Linked DNA regions of Homo sapiens: region 2 is linked to region 1. The links are contacts of gene promoters, found by promoter capture Hi-C in human tissues and cell types (Jung and others, 2019). All regions are on one chromosome and are shown on one strand. Each heading gives the region's core, a stretch centred on a gene start or on the middle of the fragment in contact. The rest is flanking DNA. Distances are from core to core; before and after follow the strand shown. Region 1 holds the start of CNTN2 (contactin 2). Region 2 overlaps NFASC (neurofascin).

What was found. Contacts are between HindIII fragments. The study calls those that stand out against the background at their distance.
Region 2: a fragment that was not itself captured here is called in contact with the fragment with the promoter of CNTN2 in region 1 in 2 of the 25 tissues and cell types used here (bladder and spleen).

Annotation. Positions count from the first base shown.
Region 1 is chr1:205,038,054-205,045,032 of GRCh38, reverse strand. CNTN2 (contactin 2) reads right to left here and starts at 1,821. Exons shown (of 23, transcript NM_005076.5): 1 at 1,639-1,821. RefSeq lists cis regulatory regions at 1,963, 2,055 and enhancers at 1,891-2,035, 1,983-2,127. The HindIII fragment of the contact is 16,049 bases long and covers 1-6,687 here.
Region 2 is chr1:204,960,714-204,967,284 of GRCh38, reverse strand. All of the region lies in intron 8 of NFASC (neurofascin), which reads right to left. Among named protein-coding and RNA genes, the nearest start is that of CNTN2, 79 kb to the left of the region's middle. The HindIII fragment of the contact is 5,464 bases long and covers 1,330-6,571 here.

The DNA of each region.
Region 1 (6,979 bases), core at 572-3,071:
TGTCTGTCTCACCTCCTGCCTCCCTCTTATTCGCTGAGGACTTCCACGGGAGATTAGGAAGGACTCTGACCTTGTGGCAAAAGCCCTGTCCATGGTTCTGCAGCTTGGCTAGAAAGGGGTTAACTGGTGGGCACCCTGGGGAGGGGCTTGGATGCTGCTGTCTTTAAGGGGAGAGCTCCCTTCTCCCAAGGCCAGGAGTGAGGGCACCTGTTGTGACCTCCAGGCCATCTCCCTGTCCAGGTGCGATCACAGCAGCCTCTCCCACAGGTGGCCCACCTTTTGCTGCACTCGATCTCCAGTGGCTCATCCGGCCCCTCTGAGTGGGACCAGGAGGTAGAGAGACTCGGAGGCTAAGTGAGCTGAGGCGTCTTTGGCCAGACGGTTGGGAGAGGAGGCCGAAACTGTTGCCCAGACGAGACCAGAACATCACCTGTGCACTGGGTTTCTTGGGCTGTTCCTCCTCCCAGCTCCTTCTGAGCAGAGGGAAAAGATGCTGAAACCCACCTTTCTCCAGGGCTGGGGCCATGGCATGCACAACCCCACTCCCTCCTGGCCTCACTGGACCCCCCCCCCCAGGACACAGGCTCAACCCCCAGGGGTCTGGGGCTAGAGGGTGCCCGTCTCCATCCCCAAGTAGCAGCAGGATTCTCCCCTTCCATAGGCACTGCCTTCTCCATGCCCCGCTGCTTCCCAGACCTGAGAGACCCTCTTGGAGAAGGTGACAGGATTCAGCTCTGGACACTCACTGGCTGGGGCTGCCCCCCACCTCCAGCCCATTATGTAAGCCCCACGGTGCTGGGCAGAAGGATTGCCCTCTCTTTCCAGAACTCCCCAGCTCTGCCCCTTCCCTTCCCCATACCATTCTGGCCCCAGCCCCTTTCCTTACTGGAAAGCCAAACTTTGTGCAAATTCTTCCCTCCCACCAGTGAGGATGGGGGGGAGGGATTTGAGGAGAAGCTAAGGTTGGGAGGGGGAAGGGAAGGAAAGGAATTTCAGCCCGGTAGCCCCAGCCTCTCGCCCTTTGGGATGTGACTGGCCTCAGGACTCTCCTCCCCGAGTCCCAGTTCCTGGACAGGCCCTTGCCCAAACTTGTGCTCCACTCTCCCCTCTCTCTTCCACAGCCCCCCTCTCCATCCAGCTGAAGCAAGACTTTGCAAAGAGGTCACCCTGCAGAGGTAGACCCTGGGTGACCTCAAAACTGGGGACTCCGGCTCAATTCCATGCAGGGACTTCTGGGGCAGGCCAGGGCCCAGGGCCTGGCTGTATGGACTGGTCCTGTCCTGGACCGGGTGCCCAGGGCCGGCCCAGGAGAAACTGCCCTCTCCACAGGCAGCTGCCACTGCCCGCTGGCCAACTGGAATTCCTGGACACACTCCTGGGGTCCAGCTTTTCGGCCAGGCTCGGCCTGAGAGAGCCCTGCGGGATGCCGCCCACGTAGACAGGGCGGAGGGGAGCCCCAGCACCCACCCTGGGGCTGAGGGGAGAAGTCAGAACGGCCCCAGCCTGCCAGTGTTCCTGTCCCTGTTCCCTCCCAAGTTACAAGGGGGATATTTACAGGAACTGAGCCGGGAGCCCCGGCCCATAACAGCACGCAGGGAAGTCCCTGGGTTGGAGGAGACAAAAGCGGTTGGCACCTACCTGGGGCGAGAGAAGGGTGTTGGCTGGGGCAGGTGGATGCTGCCCGAGTCGGTGAGCCGGGGCCGGCCGGGCCGCCAGCCCCTGTCTGGGCCGCTGTCCTTTGGGCCCTGGCGGCCTCAGCCGCTCGCTGTCCGGGTGCGGCGGCGGCCGCGGCGGCGGTGGCGGGTGAGGGCGCGTGTGTGTGAGCGCGCCCGGAGCCACTGCAGCATCTCTGCATCAAGATGTGCTCCTCCCTCTCCCAGGCTCCGCTCACTGGCTGGCTCTGGTCCTCAGCCAACGCTCGGGGGCCCTGGAGATGGCTTCCTTCTGCCCCCCTCCCACCCCACTTCCGTCCCCACCCTCCTGGCTTTACCTCATTTGCTGTCATTTAAGGACCAGGGAGCGAGCCCAGCGCGCGTCTTCCATAATGCATGGGCCGCTCATGGACAGGCCGCGGGGCGCTGTCTGGCCCGCCTGCCCTCCCGATCCTGCCCAGCCCCACTTCTAGTCCCCCTGCCCAGGGCTGAAGGGGCAGGAGAGGGGCGGGGTGAAGAGGGAAAAGAAAGTGGCTCTTACTCCTCAAACCCTGGAGACCCATGGAGCCAAAACTCCTGGTTTCCCCAGAAATCCCCTATCCGAGGAAGAGATCCAAATCAGAAATCCCAGCTTGCTGTGTGGGGCAAGTGGCAGGGAGGGGCTGTCTCTGTTGCCCGGTCCACCCCATGTTCCTCTTTATTGTTTCCCTTGTTCAAAAGTAGTTTGAGCTTTTTGTCAAAATATCTAAATATTAGAGGACATTTAAAAATACATAGTGAAAGTCCCTCAACCACTACTCTTAATAAATCTAAGTACATGCCCCCAGGTTTATTATTTTCGTGTATACAATTACATGGGTTAGTAGGGTTATTTCACACAAATGTGATTACATAAAACAGTAGGATTGGCCAAAGACTTTTAACTGTGTAACTGATCTTGGACACTTTTACGCATCAGTACGTTTGGATCCAATCCCATTTTTAAGCAACCAGCAGTGTGATGTCATGAAAAGCTCCCTGGATTAGGGGTCTGGGTGTCTGAAGCATACTCTGGGCTCCACAACCGACTGGCTGTGTGTGCTTGGCTAGGTGCCCTGCCCTCTCTGAGCCTCGCTGGTACCTGAAGGGATTAAAGATGGACACAGTCCTGCCAGCTCTGAGATTCTAAGTGCTCACCCTTGTCAGCGATGCCTTTCTCCTGCCCTGCTCCGGTCACGTGGGGGAGTGCCCAGGAAGGCTGTGGCCCGGAGGCGGAGGGACCAGCCATCTGCGGCACCAGTCGGCCCTGTCAGGCTGTCACTGTTGTCTCACCCCCCTCTGATCTGCCTGCTGTCCAGCTTGCACAGGCAAGACCGGTGAGCAGTCCAGATGCTGCAACAGCTGGCAGGGCCAGGCCAGCCTCCCAGTTTTAAATGGCTATACCTGTCAAGCCTGGATCATGGCTCCATGTCTCCCTGAGTGGAGGAGGTCCTGGGGACCTGGGCCAGAATGAGAGGGTCTGGAAAAGGAGAAGGAGTCGGGGAGGTTCTGCTGCTCAGCCTCCAAGGCTGGAATGTCTGCCCAGGTCCCACATGCGCTCCCCTCCTTTCCTTCTGAGCCCCTCCAAAGGGCTTGCCCAACTTGAGAGATAGTCTTCTTTGTTCCTGATGGGGAGGACTTGGATTTTGCTAATGATGTTTCTTAAATAATGTTGAATGCTGTTATATAGACAGACACATCAACCCCTTGCCAGGATATCTTTCCCTTCCTTCCCCTGCCCACACTGTCCTTGCCTATCTGTATGTCTGAGGGCTGGCACATTGGCTCTGAGCTCCTGAGGTGAACCTTGCTCTTTGGCACCATTCAAGTCAGCCTGGGCTCCAAAGAGAGGCTCTGCAAGTTCTCTCCTAGCAGAAAACGGCAGGAACAAGTCCTTGCCAAGAAAAGGATGCTATGTCTGCTGCAGGGGGCTGACGGGCCAGGAAATAGGCTGGCCCAGGAACCAACAGTCTGGAAATGCTTGCAAGGATTGCTTTAGACGGAGACAGCTGTCTTTGTGACTCTATTTTAGGACAGCTGCTGCCCTGTGGTGGGAGCTGGGTCTCTGGGGAGGGTCGTTAGCACAGGTGACTTGGGTCTTAAAGACTCTCAGATCTCAATGCAACCAGCATGCTCCATGTGGACTCTGGCAGACACAATAAGTGAAAACAAGAACATTTGCCAAGCCTAGACTTGGATGGGGAGACAGTTCCCAAAGTCTCATCTTCTCACTTGTCTGAAGCTCTCAGTGAAGTCTAGTATGAATGAGTTTGGGGAGATTAGGGGGATCTGCACTCCCAGTCTCTGAGATGCTCCTGTTCCTGAGGAGAGAGTGGGGTGGGCATTTGGGGGTGCAGGCTGAGTTTTGCTTGTGGGGCCCATTAGCTTGATAATAACAGAAATAATATCTGTTTTGAATGCCTCCCACATGCCGGGAGCTGTGCTAAATGCTTTACCTGAATTACTTGCGCAAGAGGTCCATGTTGTTATTATCCTCACTTTTCAGATGTTGCTCAGTAAGAGTAAGGAACTTGCTCAAAAGAAATAGTAAACAAGTGGAACCCTGGGCAACGTGGCGAAACCCCGTCTCAACAAAAAACACACAAAAATTAGCCAGTGTGGCAGTGCACACCTGTAGTCCCAGCTACCTAGGAGGCTGAGGTAGAAAGATCACCTGAGCCTGGGAGGTTAAGCCTGCAGTGAGCTGTGATCGTGCCACTGCACTCCAGCCTAGATGACAGAGTGAGGCCTGGGATCGGCCTCCAGCATCCTGGCTTAGCCACCGTGCCATGGACTCCAGCTACCTACTGTCTGTTCTTTTGAGGTGGGCAAAATAGGGGGCAGAACAGTTTCTTCTTCTTTGGTGACATCCAGAGCCCACAATCTTCAGTGCAGCTGACCATAAGGGCCACCTCTCCTTTCTGTGGCTGATCAATATGACTCCATGTTGTCCAGAGCTGGGACTCCACATCTCAAAGTTGAGTCCCCACAGACTTTCAAACAGGGCAAGAAAGGGCCAGTGAAGATAATCAGGTGGCTAGTCAAATGGCTTATAAATTTGTCCGCAAACATGTGGTGCTCCCTTGGTGGTGGTGGGTGGGGATCAGAAAGCATTTTGAGGGCCACCCAACCCTGCCCAGACCATCTGCTTCTTCCTACTGTAGCCACACAAGATTGATAGCAATGGAATCCAGTGGGTCTCTAACCGATCAAGAAGGGACCTCTAGGCCCCATCCCTGGGGACAAGTGGGGAGGAGATGAGACCCTGCCATGGCCCCAGGATGCTGCAGCTTTGCTGTCTCTTTCCTCACCACTCCCCCGCCTCACCTCTCCTTTCCTGGCCTCTCCCGCCACCAGCATCTTTGCCCAGACCCTTTTCCCAGGAGGCCATGTATTTATGGAGCAGCTCCTCTGCCTGGAATGTAGGGATCCAAGAGCCAGGGGATGCGGTCTTCAAAGTGCCAGTGACCTTTTTGGAAGCAGTGTGACAGTGGTAACAGGACTGTCCATCCACAGCTCTGGGGAAAACTGATATGGCCATAAGGAAAAGCTCTGCAGACAGACCCGTTTGACACCCAGTCCTGCTACTGAGGAGATGTGAGGCCATGGGCAAGCCACATACCTCTTCACCCAGAATATGGGGATGAAGACACATACCTCACTGAGTTGATGTGAGTGTTGAGTTACACGTGAAGTAGCTAGCACAGCAGGTGCTCAATAAATGTCAGTATTTCCCTTTTGGGATTTAGCCTCCCTCATCTGTAAAACAAGGATATGAGGCAGAGCAGTAAGGGCTGCAAGTGGTTGGGGTGGCTCTGGATTTGTAGTCAAGAGAACTGGACTCTGTCCCAGCTCTGTCACTCCTACCTGGATGACTCTGGGCAAGTAACAGAATGACACTTAATCGCCCAGATAATCCATTTCTTCACCAGTAAAATAGGAATGATCCTACTCCTATCTAGGATGGTAGTGAGGATATGTGAATTAAACATAATGGTTTTTAAAAGCACTTTGAATTGCAAAGTGCCATATCAAATACTGATGGCCATTCCCTCAGCTATGCAGTCCAAAAGGTAGGGATTATCTCATCAGTCCGTATTCTCCCAGTCCCCCACCCTCCTGTTTAGCACAGTGCCTGGTGCATGGTGGAGACTCAATAAATATTTGTTGACTGGGTGAATGAATGAAGGAGAGTAGCTATAGTAACCATTCAGAGGATGAGGAGAGAGGGAGGTAGGATGTGGGTGAAGCTTTCAGTGGGGGTGGGTGGGTGCATCTTGAATTGAGCCTGGATGGACAGAGAGGAGGTGGGGAATGTGTTTCTGGCATGGGGGCATGTGGTGTGGCAGGAGCCAAGATGTGGGGCCTGGGAAGGCCATGATTTGTGTAATGCCTGGAGAAGCCAAGTTGACCTAGCAGGGGTGCTGGAAGGAAGATCTCAATGCCCTGTCTGCATTTGCCTTCCTAATTTCATGTGAGGGCCCAGAGGGGTCTGTGGCCTGGAGGGGCCTAATTATTCTCTTTGCCATTTCAACCCAGGGCTCTTGCAGCTCCTTTTTCAGGCTTATAATAGATGATGCTAATGTCATTATTAATATTTAATAGTAATGATGCTAATAATGCCCTGCATTTATGTGGTCTCTCCAAAGAGCTCAAAGAACCCTGAGTTCTTTTTTTATGAAACAATTTGGCTGGTGTGGAAGGTGGGAGGGCAGGAGGGCAGGACAGTAGAGAGGGATTGAGTCACAAAGAAAGCAAAGCCAGAAAGGTGAAATGATTGGGCCAAGGTCACAGAGCAGTGGAGGTGGGGCTGGGCTAGGACTGGGTGCGTGGGTTCCCTGCCTGGAGCTCTGTCCTTGACTGCCCCAGGTCATCTGGGTTTAAGGAGGACGTTCCTGGTGGGGACATCTTTTGGTCCCGGTAAAAGCCATGCCATCCAGAGGATATGACAGAACAGTCTTGGGGGCAGCTGTGACCCTGGAAGTGGGCTGGGCTGAAGAGTCGATAACCTTTTGCTCTGTCTGCCCTTTACTAAGCCTGCCCGGGGTGGCTAATAGGCAGCCATGGAACATGGGAGCTGGAAGGGGCAGGTGGGGACATTGGAGTCCTTTACTAGATTCTGCAGGCCTCCCTGAGCCTTAGGCCAGACCCCTGTTTTCCAGGATCTCTGGGTGTCTGATGTACAACCTCTTGGAAGCAGTTTCAATCAGCCCACGTCAATGTGGAATCTCGGGGCTGCTGTGTAGCGTTACACAGGGAGCTCCTTCATGAAGAACAATGTCAGTGGTGCCCCCGGGAAGGAGACAGTG
Region 2 (6,571 bases), core at 2,812-5,311, 80 kb after region 1:
GAATTTTCCATCCAGAAACCCCAAGGCAAAAGGGAAACTGGAGGAAGTACCCCCTGGCCAAGGTGTACGATCGTACATAGGAATGGCTAAAAACAAAAATAGAAGCTGAGCCCACCCATGGGTTTAATGGGGTCTTAGACTCAGCAGGACAAGGGAAAGGTGGAGGGGAGGCAGAGCTGCCAGGAGCTGGGAGGCCTCAGAGACACCTGGGGTGAGGATGAAGACACTTATCCAGGGTTTAATCGGTGCTGGTAGCGTGAGGAGAGAGTGCGGGGGAACTTTATCCAGATGTAACTGGTGCTTCCTAAAGGAGCTTGCTGGGTTTGCTGGGGCCTGGCTGCACCGGCGGGGCTCCTGTTCTGGGGCACTCAACTCTCTCCCTCGGCACTGGTGGAGTGCAATTCATAGAGTTTGCTTCTATTTTATCTTTTTGTCAAAAGAAGAAAGGATGAAACATATGCAGAGGGTAACGAGGCTGATGATACAATACACGGCATACAGCAAATGCTCAATGAAGGTTTATAAGGTGAATGGATTGGAGGGGAAGAAGAGAACAAAAAATAAGGCAGCAGTTTAACCCATATTATTTCTCTTTCTGTAGATGCCTCATCTGTCCCACCAGCACACACATTACAACAGTGACTACTGAAGGGGTTAATCCATTATGTGGTTAATTGGTTATCATCTATGTCTATAACTCTTGTAGCATCCAATTCTCAGCACCAAGGAAGCCTGACACCAACAGCTTCCTCCCACCCACCATCACGGAATCACCAAAACAACCAAGACACATGGGCACTATGAGGAAAGGAGATTCTAGGGCAGAAGGCTCTGTTGTCAGGTTGGTGAATCCGTCAAGAGCTGGGAACCCTGGGATTCTGTGGAAGAGGTAGGTCCCAGCTAAGTCGTCATACTCCTTCCACACTGGGAGGAAATCTGCAGAAACCAATCTGTGACCCTATGGACGTTTAATTTACACCATAACGCGCGACACCACCAGCACGCACAACCCAGCAAAGCAATAATGATGGGAAGGAGGAAAATTTAGCACAGAGTTCTGCTGTGGGTGCCTTGACACACTGTAGCTGTGACTATAAAGAGGTTACAGCAATATTGCATTTGTAGGATGTGGGCTAGCAACAATAGAATTATCCTAAAGAAGGAGAAGCTACTGGAAACAAGCCAAAGTTCAAAAAAAGAGAAGAGCATCCTAAAAGTTGGAGGTCATAATCAGGGCCACCATTCAGTGAACGTTTGCTAGGGACCATGCACTGTGCTGACAGCTCCATCCACACCACCATTTATGCTTAATCCTCACAGCAAACCTGGAGGGTTGTATCCCCATTTTCAGCAGAGGCAACTGAGGCTCAGTGAAGTCAACAGACTTGCCCAAGGTTCCAAGCTAGTTATGTTTTGGATTCTGTGCCATTTAGCACCAAAAACGTGTGCTTTCCACCCACTCTACATTGCCTCTCTGTCTAAAGATGGGCATCCCACTTGTTCCTACTTCTGACAGTCAGCTTCAGGAATATCTTTCTTATTCAAACCAAAGAAAATGCAAGGGCAAAAGAGGTAAAGGAGAAAGATATTTCTGTCTTAGTGAGCTGCTCTGGTGAAACTCTTCCACTATGTTTTACTATTCTCACTGTCTCAGCTAAGATCCCACCTCTCCTCAGTGGCTATTAAAAAAAACTCGGGCCCAAGGTGGAGAAAAAGAAGCTGAGGAGGGAATTCAGCAGCTCTAAAGGCACCTCAGTTGGATTCTTAAAGGCATGGAAAACTTGAAGAAGATTTGGGGGACATAATATCATTAAGGAATGAGATGGCTGGCCCTAAAGGAAAGGTTATGAAGAAATGCAGTCAATTGCAGCAGGAGGAACTCATATGAAAATCTAGGAAGGATACTAGAGCTGGTGGCTTTGAGAGCCACTGTTCTCAAAGAGGGTGCCTAATTTCCTTCCCTGGAGAAGTAGAGACAGGAAGACTCTAAGACAACAGTGATTACTAGATGAAACTCTAAATGGTGGCAGATGACTGTCTCATCTTATCATGGGACACCCTCTTTCATCATGGAGGCAGGGATCCCTGGAGAGTATTGGTTATTCGCCCTGATCTTCAGAGTGGGGTCTGACCTAATGCCTGATCAAACTCAGAGTCCATACGCTAAAGCTCATATCTGTGTGGATTCAGGAAGAGCTTCCCTCGCCAGCTCATTTGACTTCTTGCCCAGGGACAGTCAGTCCTCTCCTGCTCTCGTAAGCTGTGGCTCAGAGTGGGTCCATGGGTTTCTGGGGAAATATGGTCAGCTAGCAGACAACAGGAGATGACAATGCCTCAACCATGTTGGCCTTAAAGGTCCAACGATAAATGCCTCTTGATCATCTCTTTTGAGGAAACATCAAGACTCCTGACAACCTTAGTTGCCCCCCTCTGTCAAGTGCTATGTGTTAGCAGGACAAGAAAGTTCAATGAATCAGACGTATCTGAGGACCTCTACCAAAAACAGCTTTTAGGGGCATCTGTATCCCTCATCCAGACCACTTTGCTGCTTTCGATTCTCAGAACTGAGAACCAGAGACTCATGGGGCCAGATTCTTGGCATCTCATTCACCTCTCTTGCTCTAGGAATGGCTGACCAAACAACCCCAGAAGATAGGAAAAACTCTTTGTCTAGTAATATTTGATACCTTTCAGTACCAGGAAATTTCTCCTGTAAGTTTAACCCAAACCTCATATGCAGTAGTTGGAGCTTTTCTTCTTATGCAGTTCTCAGCACAGCTGAGGATTTGAACAGCTTTTGTTTCTCTGGTCTGCCCTACAATTTCTCCCTCTATGGTACTTTCTTCCTATAATTGCACCTGCTTTTTGCCCCTTGGCTTCTCTTTAAGTTCTGTCTGTCCTTCTTAATTTCAGAAGCATAGAAGAACTATCCAGGATACAGTCAACACTAAACCATTCCCTTTAAAACCAGTAATGGGTAACACTTGTTAAGTATCGAGAATGTGCCCAACACATACTAGGAACCATAAGCACATTCTCCTGTTTAATCTTCACAACAATCCTATGAGACAGGTAATACATCCATTTGGCAAATGAGAACATTAAAGTTCTGAGACACTAAATGACTTACTCAGCATCACTCAATGGTATGTCCCGGACCCTGGATTTAATTCAAGGCAGTCTACCTCAGAGCACACACTCTTAACCACTTGGTCTCCTCACCTGGCTGAATCCTAAGCGGCAAGTTACAATCTCAGACCAGATTCTCCTGCCACTCAGCAGGTCAGGGGGCACCTAGCAGTGTTCAGAGGATACCAATCCACTCTAGAAATCACTAAAACAAAATAGAAGTATGGGGTGGCCCTCCTGCTACAAAAGAGACGTGCCATATTTCAGAGCCAAACAGACAGATGCCCTGGGCACTTTTCATCAAGTCTCTCTGTCCAGATGCCTGCACTCCAGAAAGAAGTCATCCTCCTTCCTTCCATTTCCCTTTGATTTCTTGCTAGAAGCATCAGCCTAGTTGTCTTTTGTTCAAAATGTGTCTCCCTTTGACTTTATATCCTTTCCAGCAGCTTCATACTTGGGTCAGCTCCGTCCTACCCTGGATTGAGGACAAGGGGTCAATCTCCAGGTAAACTCTTGTAAGCTTTGCTTGTTTCATAGTCCTGGATGGATCTCATAAGTCCCACTCATTCTCTTGCAATAATAGTTTGATCAATGGTCACAAACTGGTTTAAGTGACTGGAATCACTCAAACTTATTCCATTGATAAAACAACTCTATGTGTACGTTCCCCTGTATGGCTTATCTTACATAAAGTGAGGAACTTAGACCAGATGGTCTCTAAGGGAACTTCTGGCTCTGATGCACTCAGGCTTACAGAATACTTCCTATAACAGATTACCTGGAATCCGATTTAGAACAAGGCCCATTCCATACCAGGGCTCTGGGGCTCTTAACACAATAGTAGTTGGCCCCATTATCTTGAAAACAAACAATGCTTAGAATCCAACAAAGGTCCCCTGATTCCTTGGGTAGTGAATCTCTTTGGCAGGATCTCAGTGTGGTTCTAGCTGCTTGGTGCCAAGTTAGAGCCTTTGCCTCTCTCCCTGGCTCGCGCTCCCTCATCCCATCCCCTTCTCCAGTCACTCATCATCCTTTGTATTAGCACATCACAGTGCAGACACTTCCTATCTGTTTCAGCCCACAGTGAGGTCCCTTGAGGACCTGCAGCCTCAGCTTCTGAGGCATAACTAATGATGGGGGCCAGCTGCCTCACCAGAGCCAGCAAATGATGGTGCCTCTGGCTGCTCAGGGAAAATAAGACATTCTTGAGCCATGGTGAGGGGTAACTCAGGTGTGGAAATAGCCAATTACCCTATTAATCAGACTGAGCAACCAGCTGTGTCATGAGTTAAAACCATGCCTCATTGTAATTGTTCCATGTCTCGCAAGTGTGGACTGGTGGGCATTTGATTTGCATATACTACCAAAGGAGGAGAGAGGCCTAGGTGAGAGGGTACGGTGGATGGTTTCACCTCATTTATACTCATCTTGAAAGAGAACTCAGAGCTGGACTCTTACTCCTATTGCCCAGATGGATTTTAAAGAGACACGGGACCTCACTGTGAAATGGTACTCCCGGTAACTAAGGTGAGATTACAAAGCAGGCAATTCCTATCTAGAGTTAACTGAACATACTAACAAGCTTTCTGTGTTCTTTCAACTACCAATAGGAACCAGACTTCCTGTTTTCTCTTCACTATGGAACTCACCTATTTTAAGATAGTCTCCCTTCATCCATTCTTGATTCCTAAGCTTCTACTTTTTCAGTAAAAGTTCCTGCTTTTCAAGAAGTTCTTTTGAAGTCCTACCCTGGTTTGAACAACTTGTTGAGAATTCAGCAACTTGAGGCATGCCTGTTAGAGGAGACCACACCACCAGGTGAGCCACCTCAAACCCCCACACTGCCTCCTGGCAGGCAGCCTTCTGGAGGTGTCACCTTGGCACCCTGGCTGGGCCAGCTGCCACCCAGCAGGAGTTAATGACGTGGTATCAGTCAAGTTAGGCAAACTGGGGTTAGCACAGGCAAGGTTACTCCCAAGGTTACCGCTGCGACTCACCACTGTACATGTCAGGGTGGTTTCTTAAGGACGAGTCATTATAAGGGTGGTCTGTAACAAACAAAAGAGGGTGAGCAAACAGGAGGCCACGGAGAAGTCACAGAGGCATAAACGGGGAGAGAAAACAAATGCAAAGCCAGAAAAACAACTGAGGAGGGCAGCAGTGGTCTTTTGCAAAGGAAAGACACGGCATATTTGGAAAGGCAATACGCTCAGTGAAGAACAAGCAACACAAAACAGCCCACAAAAGGAGAAAAAAAGGTTAAATCCTGCAAAAGAAGGCAATAATACAGTAATGGTTTTTTTAAAATTAAAGAAATTAGGTTTGAACTTTAATTAATTGGTCCTGCTATATTTTCAAACAAATGAGAGAAGGATTAGTGGTGTCCTGTAGCCATCTTTTGAACAACTCCTTCTTATCAAAATCCTCAGTTCCCAGGACTCTGGGTCAGGCTAGCTCTTGGAGCAGCTAAAGAGAAAGGAGTGTTAGTGAGCTCCGGGGAAGAGCAAAGTGCTGCCTGGGCAGAAGCTAAGCTGCAGGAGGTTGGTGGTAAATGGGAGGAGGTCATTGACCAAAAGAGTTGGGCCAAGGGGCCCTGGCCACACCCAGCAACATGTGTCACTGGAGTCTGCCCAGGTGGGCACCACTATGATCTTGGAGATGTCTCTGTTGGCAGAAAGCCCTCCTTGTGAGGATGCCGGGAGAGGTTCAGTGAGGTGGGGAGAACATCCCTGAGGTTCAGGCTTTAGAATTTAGAATTGGAGCTTGGGACAGGAGAAAGTGCAAGCTGTGAGTTCTACATTTCAGACTAGGAAAGTCCTCCTGAACGTTCTGGAGGTTCGAAGCTCTCTAGACTATGCAGGATTGAAGACATTCCTTATGGAGCAAGATCAGTGGCTTCAGTTCCAATGTTAGGTAATTCAAACTCGTGGGCATTTACTCCTTAATGAGAAAGACATTTCAGAAGAGGACACATCATCACGCCAGCGTCCTGAAGGAGCTTTTCCCTCTCTACCTCTGGTCCCTTCCAGCAACTGGGTTCAAATTGTGACAGTACTAAAAGGGGGTGGGGTATACAGCTGACTGGAAGCCAAGCAGATGGCCCTGAGGAGGCAAGAACATGGTCCAACTGCTCGAGGGACAACAGGGGCTCTGCCAAAACATTTGCATATTTGTCGACAGATCCAATCCCATTACAACTAGTTGCAAGAAGTATGAGAGTCCTTTTCTGGGACTGGCATTGCATTGCATCCCAAATCTGCTTGCCACCTGGTAGGAAGATTTTCATTATTCAGAACTCTCTCTTAAGATGGGGTTTGTTGTAAAGACCCAGCCTGTTTGGGAAGTCTGCTTGGGTCCATCTGGAGCTAAAGGCAGGAATAAATCCACAATGTAACGAAGAGATGGGGTGGCCCAAGGGCAGGTGGGGGCTGCAGCTGGGCTT